3 separate regions of the Homo sapiens genome follow, and regions 1 and 2 are each linked to region 3. The links are contacts of gene promoters, found by promoter capture Hi-C in blood cells and fetal thymus (Javierre and others, 2016). All regions are on one chromosome and are shown on one strand. The core of a region is centred on a gene start or on the middle of the fragment in contact, and the rest is flanking DNA. Distances in the headings are between cores, read along the strand shown.

What was found. The method cuts DNA at HindIII sites, captures the fragments that hold promoters and counts their contacts. A CHiCAGO score of 5 or more calls a contact.
Region 1: the fragment with the promoter of JPH2 here is called in contact with the fragment with the promoter of IFT52 in region 3 in 4 of 17 cell types (M2 macrophages, M0 macrophages, naive CD8 T cells and 1 more); the score reaches 7.3 in M2 macrophages.
Region 2: a fragment that was not itself captured here is called in contact with the fragment with the promoter of IFT52 in region 3 in 3 of 17 cell types (M2 macrophages, naive CD8 T cells and fetal thymus); the score reaches 6.9 in M2 macrophages.

Annotation. Positions count from the first base shown.
Region 1 is chr20:44,185,844-44,189,628 of GRCh38, forward strand. JPH2 (junctophilin 2) reads right to left here and starts at 1,345. Exons shown (of 6, transcript NM_020433.5): 1 at 484-1,345. The coding sequence starts at 862. The HindIII fragment of the contact is 12,085 bases long and covers 1-3,785 here.
Region 2 is chr20:44,103,059-44,107,128 of GRCh38, forward strand. It overlaps JPH2 (junctophilin 2), which reads right to left. Exons shown (of 6, transcript NM_020433.5): 6 at 3,532-4,070. Among named protein-coding and RNA genes, the nearest start is that of JPH2, 82 kb to the right of the region's middle. The HindIII fragment of the contact is 5,238 bases long and covers 1-4,070 here.
Region 3 is chr20:43,587,905-43,592,285 of GRCh38, forward strand. IFT52 (intraflagellar transport 52) reads left to right here and starts at 3,033. Exons shown (of 14, transcript NM_016004.5): 1 at 3,033-3,150. RefSeq lists an enhancer at 3,155-3,224. The HindIII fragment of the contact is 15,646 bases long and covers 43-4,381 here.

The sequences.
Region 1 (3,785 bases), core at 95-2,594, 600 kb after region 3:
TGGACGGGTGGGTGGATTGGTGTGTGGATAGATGATGAGTGGATAGTTGGATGGGTGGATGGATGGATGGGTGGGTGGATGAATACTCCTCATGATCTATTGCTTGAAAATAATTTTCATGGCAAAGTTAAGACTAGACCCTAATTCTGCTAGAGTATATTCCATGGCTGTTTATGTTGGGGCATACCGAACATGCTAATGGTAGTAGTTATATTTTATTGTGTGTTGAGTGTGCACTTACATGGCAGGCTTTGTACTAAGCACTGCCACTAATCCTCTCAATAACCCCTTTATTAGCTCCATCTTTACTACAAGAAAATGGAAGCTCAGAAAGGTAGAGCAGCTTGCCCAAAACCACACAGCAAATCACTTCCTAGCCCATCTGATTCTGTGCCAATTGCCGGTCGCCTTTCCCACCCTCCACCAGGGTTTCTCACCCTCCCTGGCTCCACCCCACCTCTGCGGGCCCCCAGCTGGCCTCACCTCCATCAGCATAGGTCTCGGTGCCATAGCCGTCTTGCAGGCCATTGTTCCAGGTGCCCTCATACTTGGCACCGCTGCTTGAGCTCTGCCGGATTCCGTAGCGTCCCTTGAAGCCATGTGTCCACTCGCCCTTGTAGAGCCAGCGCCCCTTGGTCTCTATGCCCAGCCCATGCCGTTTGCCCTGGCTCCAGTATCCCTCAAAGGTGTTTCCGCTGGGCCAGGTGTAGACACCTGCCACCTCAAAGCCAAAGTTCCAGGAGCCAGAGTATTCGCCCTGGCCCTTGGGGCCTGTGCACAGTCCATGCCCATGGGCCTTTCCCCCCTCCCAGCCCCCGCAGTACGCCCCTCCATCATCAAAGTCGAAGCGGCCCCCACTCATCTCATCATAGCCCCTGACAACCTCCCCGTCCTCCAGCGTGGGTGCAGAGGGCGTGGGTGATGCCTGCAACACTCCTCCAGTGCCCTCGGGGGCAGGCCCCCAGACTCACCACTGCACCCCAGGAGGGGGGAAGCAGGATGCCAGCAGAGGCTGAAAGAGCCCCGGCGCCAAGTCAGCACCGGGTCGGCTAGTCAGTGCCATGCCCGGGAGCCCCGACTCCACCAGCCAGAGCAAGGCTGCCTGCTGGAAAGAAAGCAGGAAGGAAAGGTTCAAAGTCCCCACAAAGCGTCCCAAGTCTGCCTTCCAAGAAGTCCAAGGGAAAACGGTGTGATCTCTTTAAGAAGCCCAGTGAAAGGGTGGGGTGGAGGGGTCCCCAGCCTTTTCAAAGAGGGGAAATTCCCCTCGGTGGCAGCCCCCGCCGGAGGCTGAATTCCCGCAGCCCGCTGGCCCCCTTCTCCACCCCAGTGGGTGTGCGGGGCTGTCGGTCTCCCCGCCGCTGCCCCGCCCCCTTCTCCAATCCTGCCCTCCTTCTGGGACGGAAAGGTCAGTGTTGCCCTAACAAGGCCATTGGATCTCAGAAGCTGCTCCCAAAATAACCCCCAGCCAGCCCAGCCTTCTTCAAAGCGGGAAGGAGGGGTATTTCAAATCGCGCCCGTGCCGCAGACCCGGGCAGTGGCTGGAGGCATGAGGAAGGAGGCTGAGAACTGAGTGCAGGCAGCCCAGGGAACCTGGTGTCTTTTCCTCCCGGGAATGAGAGCTCCCTTCCATTCTCAGAGTCCCCTGGGTCTGCGCGCAGGGAGGGCACCGGGGAATCGGGGAAGGGAGGGGAGAGGGAGACCAGCAGAACACCCAGTCCTGGAACACTGAAAATCCCCCAGAGCGAGGAGGTTGGCAGATCTCAGCCCCATCACCACTCACATGCCCTAAGGGGACCTGGGGTTACAGCACCACTGCCAGCCCCATCAAGGAATCCAGTGACCTAAAGAGAAAGGAATGGAGACAGTTTCACATGTGCTTCCGAAAGCAGAGGAGGGAAGTCAGAAAGAGAGGGGAGGCTGTGGAAACAGGGTCTGGAAGATACACAGAATCTCAGTCCAGTGCTCACTCACCACCCTGAGCTCCCTCCACCCCTGGAAGCCGGGGAGAACTTGGTGCAAGAAGCAACCATCTATTCCCTTTCTCTTTCTCCTGAAGGGCAAAGAGAAGGGAGAGGAGCCTGCCCTCCTCTCTGCCTGAGACACAGACTGGGCGTCCCGCTAGCTTCCTCTCCCCACCCCTTGATGCCTCGGCGCCCTCCCTGCCCCCTGCCGCAGACCCAGCAGACCCTGAAGGTCAAAGGAGTCCCCTTCCTGTCAACACAGGGTTGTGTTGTAATGAGGTCCTCTCAGAAATTCTCAAGGGTCATGATTTTTTAAAATTTCCCTTTCTGAGCTGTCTTTTGCTCTAGTGTCCTAGGAGCCTGTGAGGCCAGACTTCAGAAAGCTCTTGGGGCAGGGCCAGGAGAGAAGGGCCTGGGTGGATTCCCAGCCACTCAGGTTCCCACCAAACTCCAGTAAAAAGAACAAATAAATCTCCATGGCAAGAAGCTGTGGCCAGAGCTAATGATTGTAAATCCCAGCTAAGCCCAAGGTTAATGGGAGTATAGAGGAATTCTGGGAAAGGTAAGAGCCACCAAGACTAGGAAGATCTGTGTGTGTGTGTGTCTGTGCGTGTGTGTGAACGTGTGTCTGTGAGAGTGTGAGAGAGTGTGTGTGAGTGTATGTGAGTGTGTGTGGTAAGAGTGTGTGTGTTTGTGTGTGTGTGGTAAGTGTGTGTTTGTGTGAGTGTGTGTGGTAAGAGTGTGTGTGTTTGTATGTGTGTGTGGTAAGAGTGTGTGTGTTTCCATGTGTGAGTGTGTGTGTGTGAGTGTGTGTGTGAAGATGGGGACAGAAGAGAAAGAGAGAACTAAGCACAGAAGGTACTAGAGAACATTAGACAATTATCTGACTTTGAACTTATCTGACATATTTCCAAACCCCATGATAACTTAGGCCACGTGAAGTCACTGCGGAAGTCTTGTTCCTGTTTGGGGAGTGGGTAAAAAGTGTTCCCTGCTTTCCTTCCAGTGGGTTACCTGTTCTTAGGACTTGGTTCCATCCTTGGTCACAGCCGCTGACCTTCAAGAGCCCCTTCTATATCTGCGTTTCACCACCAGGTAGAGGCACCCAGCCTCTTGGGCTCACTGTCACCGTCTGTTTGCCAAGCTGACAGGGAGCACGTAGTGGATAAAAACTGTTTCCTCTGGGTGGTTAGGTGTGAGCCCTGGCCAGGCTGACTGACAGCCTGCTTGCACAATTCACTTCTAAGAACATCTCAGGGCTACTCCCAGGGAGTTCTGCTTTCGCCACTTCTCACTAGGTCTTTGGAGAATCACAAACTTCTTTCTAGCTCTGCTGTCAAGGGAAGAGCATCTCAAACTGGAAGCTAGGGGAGTTTGAGCTGCAGATTCAATACCGTAATCATATGTTTATGCCAGGCAGCCATTGCTACATCTTAGCAGGGTGTTCTACCTATGGGAATTTAACCACTGTTCATCCATAGCAGCTCCCTAGGGTAGCTGTCTACCCAGGGTTACTACACATAAGAATCACTTACAGACTTAAAAACATAAAGAGATCCGAGAGCCCCACCCGAGACCTACAGAATTAGATTGTCCTGGGAGAAGACTTGGGCAGTCGAATTCTTTTAAAAGCTCCTCAGATGAATCTGATTTTCATCTCTGGTTAAAAACACTGTAAGTGCTTGTTATAGTGGCTCACACCTGTAATCCCAGCACTTTGGGAGGCCAAGGCTGGAGGATTGCTTGAGCCCAGGTGTTTGAGACCAGCCTGGACAACACAGTGAGACCCCGCCTCTACAATTAAAAATTTTTTTTTTTAATTAG
Region 2 (4,070 bases), core at 766-3,265, 510 kb after region 3:
AGGCATTTCACTAAAGATTAGATACAATTGCCCAACAGATACATGACAAAATACTCAACATCTCTAATCATTAGGAAAATGCACATTAAAACCATAATGAGATTTCACCTCACACCTGTTGGAATGGCTATTACCAAACAGATGAGTGACAAGTGTTGGTGAAGATGTGAAGAGATGGGAACCCTTGTGTACTCTTGGTGGGAATGTAAATAAGTACAGCCTTTTGGAAAACACCTTGAAGATTCCTCAAAAAACTGAAAGAACACCTTTGTCCTCTAACAAAGGTGTCATTGTGAGGTCCATCCTCTGTAGTCAAGGCTCTCTGGGTCTGTGAATTTATTTAGGTCTGGGAACTAGGTATGAAGCCGTGGCTTTCTTTTGCAGTGACTCAAGTTAGACTTTTGCCTATCAAACCTACAGTTTGTCCAGTAATACTTTAGCAGATGGTCCAGCTATTTCATCTCCCCAAGGATACCAGGATTGATTAGCTCCTGGTAAAAATCCCTGCATGTCAAACCTTCTGATTGCTATTGGTTCACGTTGCCCATACAGAACTTGCACTCACCTTGTCTGTGAAAGTTAAGTACTGCCACTTACCTTCTACCACCTTGAGATCTTTTCACTCTTATTGAAATCAGGAAAAAATAGTTTTTACAACATAGTGGTGCCAATTATGAGCCATTAATGAGCTGTGTAACAACCTGGGAATCCAGGTGCTATGGTTTGAATGCTGCTGTCCCCCTCAAACTCATATGTTGAAGCCTCATTGCCAATGTGACAATATTAGGAGGTGGGGCTTTTGGGAGTGCTTAGGTCATGAGGGTTTCACCCTCATTAATGGGATTAGTGCCCTTATGAAAGGGGCCACAGAGAGCTGCCTTGCCCCTTCCACCATGTGAGGACACAGAGCGAAGGTGCCATCTGAGAGCCAGAAAGCAGTCCCTCCCCAGATATCACATCTGTTGGTGCCTTGATCTTGGACTTCTCAGACTCCCAAACCATGAGAAATAAATTGTTGTTTATAAGGTACCCAGGCTGTGGTATTGTGTTACAGAAGCCCAAAAGGACTAAGACAACAAAAATGAACAAAATAGGCACATCCCTAAGTGCACGGAGTTTACAGCCTACTGGCAAAGGCAGATAAACAATAACCACACTAATAATTGTATTTAACGGGTCTGAGACAGAGAGCTGTGTGCCAGGAATCATCCTGGAAGGATAGGTAGGGGTAAAATCAGAGTCCTCTCCATTCCCTCTCTTCCAAACTCACAATGCTTTTGTGTATTTTCACAGCCTCCTGCACATCCCTCTGTCCTGGCATGTTTAATGCCAGGCCATCAGGTAAGACATTCCAGGTCTTCTTTCCTGGAGTATAAGGACTATGCCTCTTGTATCTCTTTAATCCAAGTGCCCATGAAAGGTTCTGTAAGTCATTGACTTCCTTAAATATTTTAAAAAATAAATGGAGGAACAAAGAGGGAGAAGTTAAACCACCAACTGGGGAATGTCCAGGTGTTCATGTCTAAGAAAAGAGTAATCACTAGCTTTTCTCACTGTCTCTACCTGGATATAGGGACCCAATCCAAGTAGATACTAAGAAAGATAATTCTACTGGCTGATATTAGATAGGATTGGGGGGAAGAAAAGATGAGGAAAGAAGAGAACATGGGGAAAAAACTGAACTTGTGAAATGAAATAATGAGTGGAGTTGGAGGGAGGGTCCTTGGTGAGTATCAGTGCAGCCCAAAAGGATCAGGTAGTCTGAAGGGATAATGTCATCATGGCTGGAGACTGGACACTCATAGGAACCCCCTCCTCTGACTGTATTTTTCTCTGTGACTTCTCCTGCGGTGGTAGATTGGGATTTTATTCCCAATTCTTCACTCCGTATAAAAGAATAATACGGCCAGGTGTGGTGACTCATGCCTGTAATCGCAGCACTTTGGGAGACTGAGGTGGGAGAACAGTTTGAGCCCAGGAATTTGAGGCTGCAAAGAGCTATGATGTAACACTGCACTCCAGCTTGGGCAACAGAGTAAGACCCTGTCTCAAAGAAAAGAAATCATATGTCCACTTTTTTGTGGTAAGTACCTGCCTCTAGATTTGGAAGAGTTTACTTCCCCCACACCACTGTTGTTGGGCTCAGGCATGGGACTTGATTTGGCCAATAGGATCTAAGCAGACATGATAGGAGCAGAGGCTTTCATTCCTGCACTTCTGCCATCCACCGTAAGATAAACATGCTCCGTTGGCACTGGTCCCAACATGAGAAACAACTGGAGGAAACCTGAACCTTTCCCTTAGCCTGAAGCAGAGCCAACACAGTCAACCCACAGATCTATGAGCAAGAAAAAAAATGGTTGTTATCGTGAGGGTTGCTTGTCATGCAGTATTATCACAGCAATATTGCACTACTACACTTGCTTTCTTTTTTGAGAATTTCATTCCACTCTCCCTTTTCTGCTTAACTTTCATGTATCTCAAATGATGTTATAATTTCTTTTTATATTTCTGATGAGGCTCAGGGATCTCCTTTTCCCCTCATCCACATACCTAAAAACCACCTTGTGCACATAACCAATCCCACCCATTTGTAATGGGCTCTGTACAAAGGCCACATTAATTGCACCCCCCTCATCCACCACTCCCCCATTCCCACACACATACCCATGCTCTGCCAGGAAACCTCCTGTGTAGAGAAGCATCTGGGGTATGGGAAGAGCTTTGGTGTGTCAGAAAGATCTCAACAAAAGCATGAAGTTTAAGAGACATTGTGTAACCTGCCCTGGATCATACATTTTAACAGTTAGAATGTGTTTGGCCCCAAGTAACAAAAAACCTGATGAAGAGGGGCTTAAATCTTGAGAACAGTTATTGTTTACTTAACAAGAAGTCTGGTTGTAGATGGTTCAAGAGTTGATTCAGTAGCTTCAGAATCAACTGGGTTGGCATCTTGGCAATTCTCTTGACCTTCCTTTCATGGTTGTGAAATGGCTGCCACAGCTCCAAGCATCAGCACCCACGACCCCCAACCTGCATCCAAAAGCAAGAATAAGGGGGAAAGCCAAGGTAGCAAGAGAGACTTTGTTTGCTTTCATCTCTTCTTTTATCATAGAAGAAAGTCTTTCTCAGGAAACCCCAAGTGAGCTTTCCCTTATGTTTCGTGGACAATTACGTCTCCTGGATCACAAGGCTACTCCTAGATGCAAAGGAAGCTAGGAAATGAGTTTTGATCATGAGTTTTGCTCACGCCTCTGTAGTGGAGGCAGAGATAGGAGCAGGGTTAGGAATGGCTGTTGGGTATGTGGTAGAGAAAGAGAAGCATCATGCATTTATCCCTTCAAGAAGGACTTGCTTCTCTGCAGTGGGAAGTGTGGTCAGCAGACAACTTCCAGTTGTCAGTTCCTTCAGGGTCTGCCCCAGCTTCAGAGAGCTGTCTCACCCAAGGTCATGCCCTTCCCAGAGCAGCCCATACCCAGTTTATTAGTTCGTTTTCATGCTGCTGATAAAGACATACCTGAGACTGGGCAATTTATAAAAGAAAGGTTTAATGGGACTCACAGTTCCAAGTGGCTAGGGAAGCCTCACAATCATGGTGGAAGACAAGGAGGAGCAAGTCACATCTTACTAGATGGCAGCAGGCAAAGAGAGGAACTTGTGCAGAGTAACTCCTCTTTTTAAAATCATCGATCTCATGAGACTTATTCACTACCACGAGAACGGCACGGGAAAGGCTTGCCCCCATGATTCAATTACCTCCCACTGGGTCCCTCCCACAACGTGTGGGTGGGAATTTAAGATGAGATTTGGGTGAGAACACAGCCAAACCATATCACCCAGTAACAGAGCAAGGGAGGGGTATAAAAGCCCAATGGGAGATGCTCTACAAGCAATCCTTGCTCTGGAGCTCCCACTGGGTTGGACTTTGTCAGGCCTGCATCAAGTTAGACTTCTTCCTCTGCCCTGTTCTGCATTTTCCTCCTTCCTTTCACAGGTTTTGATCCCTAATAAACATCTTGCAGCTTAGGTGACTCTCAGTGTCTGCTCCTGCAGAATCCAATCAGTGATGG
Region 3 (4,381 bases), core at 1,783-4,282:
AGCTATTAGAGATCAAAACTGGGTCAGGAAGAGTTCATGTTAAGCTTTCACATGTGCTAAGAACGCTGAAAGATACACACTGATTTCCATCTTAATAGTGCCAGATAATTGACAAATTTGGGACAAGATGAGGGAGAGGTCAAAATCCCCCTAACTTCCCAAAGCAAAAAAACAGGAGTATAATGATCAGAAACGTAATAGTAGTGTCAGAAGCACACAATCAGCTGTGGACGGTGAAACATATAATGGTTCTATCTGTTCTGAGATTGTAAAAGCACAATTATTTTCATCAGGATAAAAAATAAAAATGAAAAACTATGCTGTTGAATGGAACATGCTACAACCTATGTTTATTGAGCACATTCCAAGTTTTATATGCATTATCTACAATCCTCACTATAAGCCAGCATTTAGAAATTATGAACTTCAGACTGGGCGCAGTGGCTCACGCCTGTAATCCCAGCACTCTGGGAGGCCAAGGCAGGCAATTCACGAGGTCAAGAGTTCAAGACCAGCCTAGCCAAAATGGTGAAACCCCGTTTTTACTAAGAATACAAAAATTAGCCGGGCATGGTGGCGGGTGCCTGTAATCCCAGCTACCTGAGAGACTGAGGCAGGAGAATTGCTTGAACCCAGGAAGCGAAGGTTGCAGTGAGCGGAGATCATGCCATTGCACTCCAGCCTGGGCAACAGAGCAAGACTCAGTTTCGGCAAAAAAAGAAAGAAAGAAAGAAATTATTAACTTCGCTTTACAGATAGGATACATTTGCTCAGAGATTATGAAAACTGCCCAAGGTCACCCAGCTGGTACAAGTCACAGCGAGGAATTGAACTTGGTGACAACTACTGATTCTAAAAGTCTTACTCTTGCTTTTTTGGGGGGGGAAGCGGGGACGGAGTTATGCTCTTGTTGCCCAGGCTGGAGTGCAATGGCGCAATCTCAGCTCACTGCAACCTCTGCCTCCTGGGTTCGAGTGATTCTCCTGCCTCAGTCTCCCAAGCAGCTGGGATTACAGGCGGCCGCCACCACACCCGGCTAATTTTTTGTATTTTTATTTTTATTTTATTTTTTATAGAGACGGGGTTTCACCATGTTGGTCAGGCTGGTCTCGAGCTCTTGACCTCAAGTGATCCACCTGCCTTGGCCTCCCAAAGTGCTGGGATTACAGGCGTGGGCCACTGCACCCGGCCAAAACTCTTACTCTTTCTGCAATCTCTAACAGTGGGAGAAATGCTCTGGGCAGGTGCTGTAGCAAACACTGACTGCATATCAGGCAGAAAGATCCCAAGATTTGTCCCAGCCTTCAAATGGGACGGCCTACTCTCTCTTCAGTGAGAATACTTCATTTCCATTATTACCCTAACTGCAAACTGTATTCACCCAATTCTGCACCAAAATACAGCATCCCCAAGAAGAGAACTTTTTTTTTTTAAGAGACAGAGTCTCACTCTGTTGCCCAGGCTGGGGTGCAGTGGAGCGATCATGGCTCACTGCAGCCCGAACTCCTGGGTTCCAGCGATCTTCCCACCTCAGCCTCCCAAGTAGCTAAGACTACAGGTGTGTGCCACCATGCCTGGCTAATTTTCTTTTTTTATTTATTATTACTATTATTATTGGAGAGAAAAGGTGTTACTGTTACCCAGGTCCCAGACTCCTGGCCTCAAGCAGTCCTCCCACCTTGGCCTCCCAAAATGCTGGGATTACAGGCAGAAGCCACTTCATCTGACCAAAGAGAATTCTCAAATCACCCTGTTCTCCACTTTCTTTTTGAGACAAGGTCTCACTGTGTTGCCTAGGCTAGAGTGCGGCGGCACCATGACGGCTCACTGCAGCCTCAACCTCCTAGGATCAATCAATCAATCCTCCCACCTCAGTCTCCCAAGCAGCTGGGACTACAGGCGCGCGCCACCACGCCCAGGTAATTTTTCCTATTTTTAGTAGATACCGGGTTTCGCCATGTTGCCTAGGCTGGCCTCAAACTCCTGGGCTAAAGAGATCCACCTGCCTCGGCCTCCCAAAGTGCTGGGATTACAGGAGAGAGCCGCTGCGCCCGGCCCGTCTCCACTTTTAAAATTTCCAGTGACAGAAATTGTGGAAAGCAACACGAGTTGTATGTGTTTTAATATCCTAGATTCGAAGACAAACATAAATGTAAATAAAAACTGTCAGAGCTCTCTGCAATCTTCAGTTTGGGTCTTCCAGGCTGCTGCAGCGTTGTTCACAAATCCACACACCTCTAAAGGCAGGCACAGAGCGCTTTCCTGGGTAGTCGGGTGGCCTGTTGGTAGTTGCAGGCTTCTGGTTTCCCATCTTAATGGCGATGGCAGGGCAACCTGTATTGGTGGTGCTTTTGCACAAGCAGTTCTTTCTGCCGGGAACGCCCTTCCCCAGCCTTTGCCTTAATGAATACCACTCTCTCTTCAAATCTCTGCTCAACAGGGGCGCCTTTTTGACCAGCTTAGTCGTTAGACTCCCTAATACAGTTCATAGTTTTCACATTTTTGTAGAATCTATTCAAGTTCTAACTCCCCGCCATGCTCGCCGGCGCTCAAGCCTAGTACCATGGCAAGCAAAGATGCGGAGTTAATAAAACAGAATTATACGGTTTATCATTCTCAACACTAAACCTGCGCACCCTTTTCCGTTAAGTAGTTCCTAATAGTCCAGCACAGCCTTCCGCCCGGCCCCGCCCTCGCCTGGCTCCACTCTGCTCCTGCGCTTTGGGAATCGAAGCTGGGGCGTTCTCCAACCCCCCCGCGCTGGAAGCCTTCACTATTCTCCTCCCTGTGGGTGGAGCGAAGTTTGGGCACTTGGGTCCTACCGTTGTTATTAGTCTTTACTCGTAATTGATACTAAAGAACAAAATTAAATGGGTTTATTTTTGGTGAAAAGTTAATTCTCCTTATGTTTGGATTTGCCCCTCATGCACCAAATGGTACAGCCCCACATCAGTCAGGCTGCCTACCCCTGACGCCTGCGACGGAGAGGCGCCTTCCGTGCTGTCGTCATCACGTCGGCCGGAGCTAGCGCTGCGTCCTGGGCCACGCCTCCCGGCGCACCGACGCGCCTCTCCGGTTACTAAGCGGCCTTGGATACCTGGCCGCGGGATGCTGGGCGGCGTCAGGTGAGCGGTGGTCGCTGGGCCTCAGGTAAAGGGCGCCAACAGTGGTGGGCCGGCTGGGGCGTTGGTGCGGCCTGGGAGCTGGCGAGGGACTCGCCGCACTCTTCGAGGCCGCTGGGCCGGTCATAGAACATCCAGGGTCCCCCGGGGTGAAGTAAACTGTGGGCGCGGACGTAGCCCGGGTTCCTGGCGCCCCGGCTGGGCGCCCATCTCCACGGCCTCGGGTGGTGCAGGTGTTTAGTCGTTCCGCTGACTATGAAAGAGCATGGGACGAGGAATCGTACAGTCTTAATCTCTCTTCTGTCGTGGCTGCGACCCCTCGGTATTCATGTGGGAAAATACTGATTTGACTGGTAATGTTATTGAAGAGAAAGCGAGAGAATGGTTTGGCAGCGTTACCCAAATATTTGTTATTTTTATAGTTTTAAAGGCCTTATACTATTATTAAGGAAATGCATTTCTGGCTAAGTCTGACAGTACAGGAACGCAGACCTGCTACTCTCACCAGGGGCTGAACTAACAGAACAAAAAAAGATAGATGTATCACGGTGGTGGGACCATGGAGGGGGCAGTTTTTCAACTGGACAAAATGATGTTAAAGTGCTTAAAGAAGGATAAATATGTGAAAGTAGCCAGGAAAATTCTAAAATTAATGCTAATAAGGGAGATTAGCTCTCCAGAACCACCAGATATTATAACATAAAGGTATAGCAATTAAACTAGCATAGAAGATGGGTGCAGCAGTGTGGGCCCGTAGTCCTGGCTACTTGGTAGGCTGAGGCGGCAGGATCCCTTGAGCCCAGGAGTCAGAGACCAGCATGGGTATCAAAAGGAAACCCTGTCTCTGAAAATAAATAAATTAATTTAAAAAGTTTGGGACTCAGCAGGAGCTTACAGGTAGATAAAATATATTAGAACTCAGAATAAGAGCGATTTATATATAGGGATTTATTATATAGGCGAGGTGGTACTGTATTTCAAATCAGCATTGAAGAGATGAATTGGGGTCAGGCAGCTTTTTTAGCAATTTAGAAAATAATTAAACCAGTCGAGCGAGGTGGCTCACACCTGTAATCCCAGCACTTTGGGAGGCCAAAGCGGGTGGATCACTTGAGGTCAGGAGTTCCAGACCAGCCTGGCCAACCTGGTGAAACACCGTCTCTACTATGGCGCGCGCCTGTAATCCCAGCTACTGGGGAGGCTGAGGCAGGAGAATTGCTTGAACTTGGGAGGCGGAGGTTGCAGCGAGCCGAGATTGC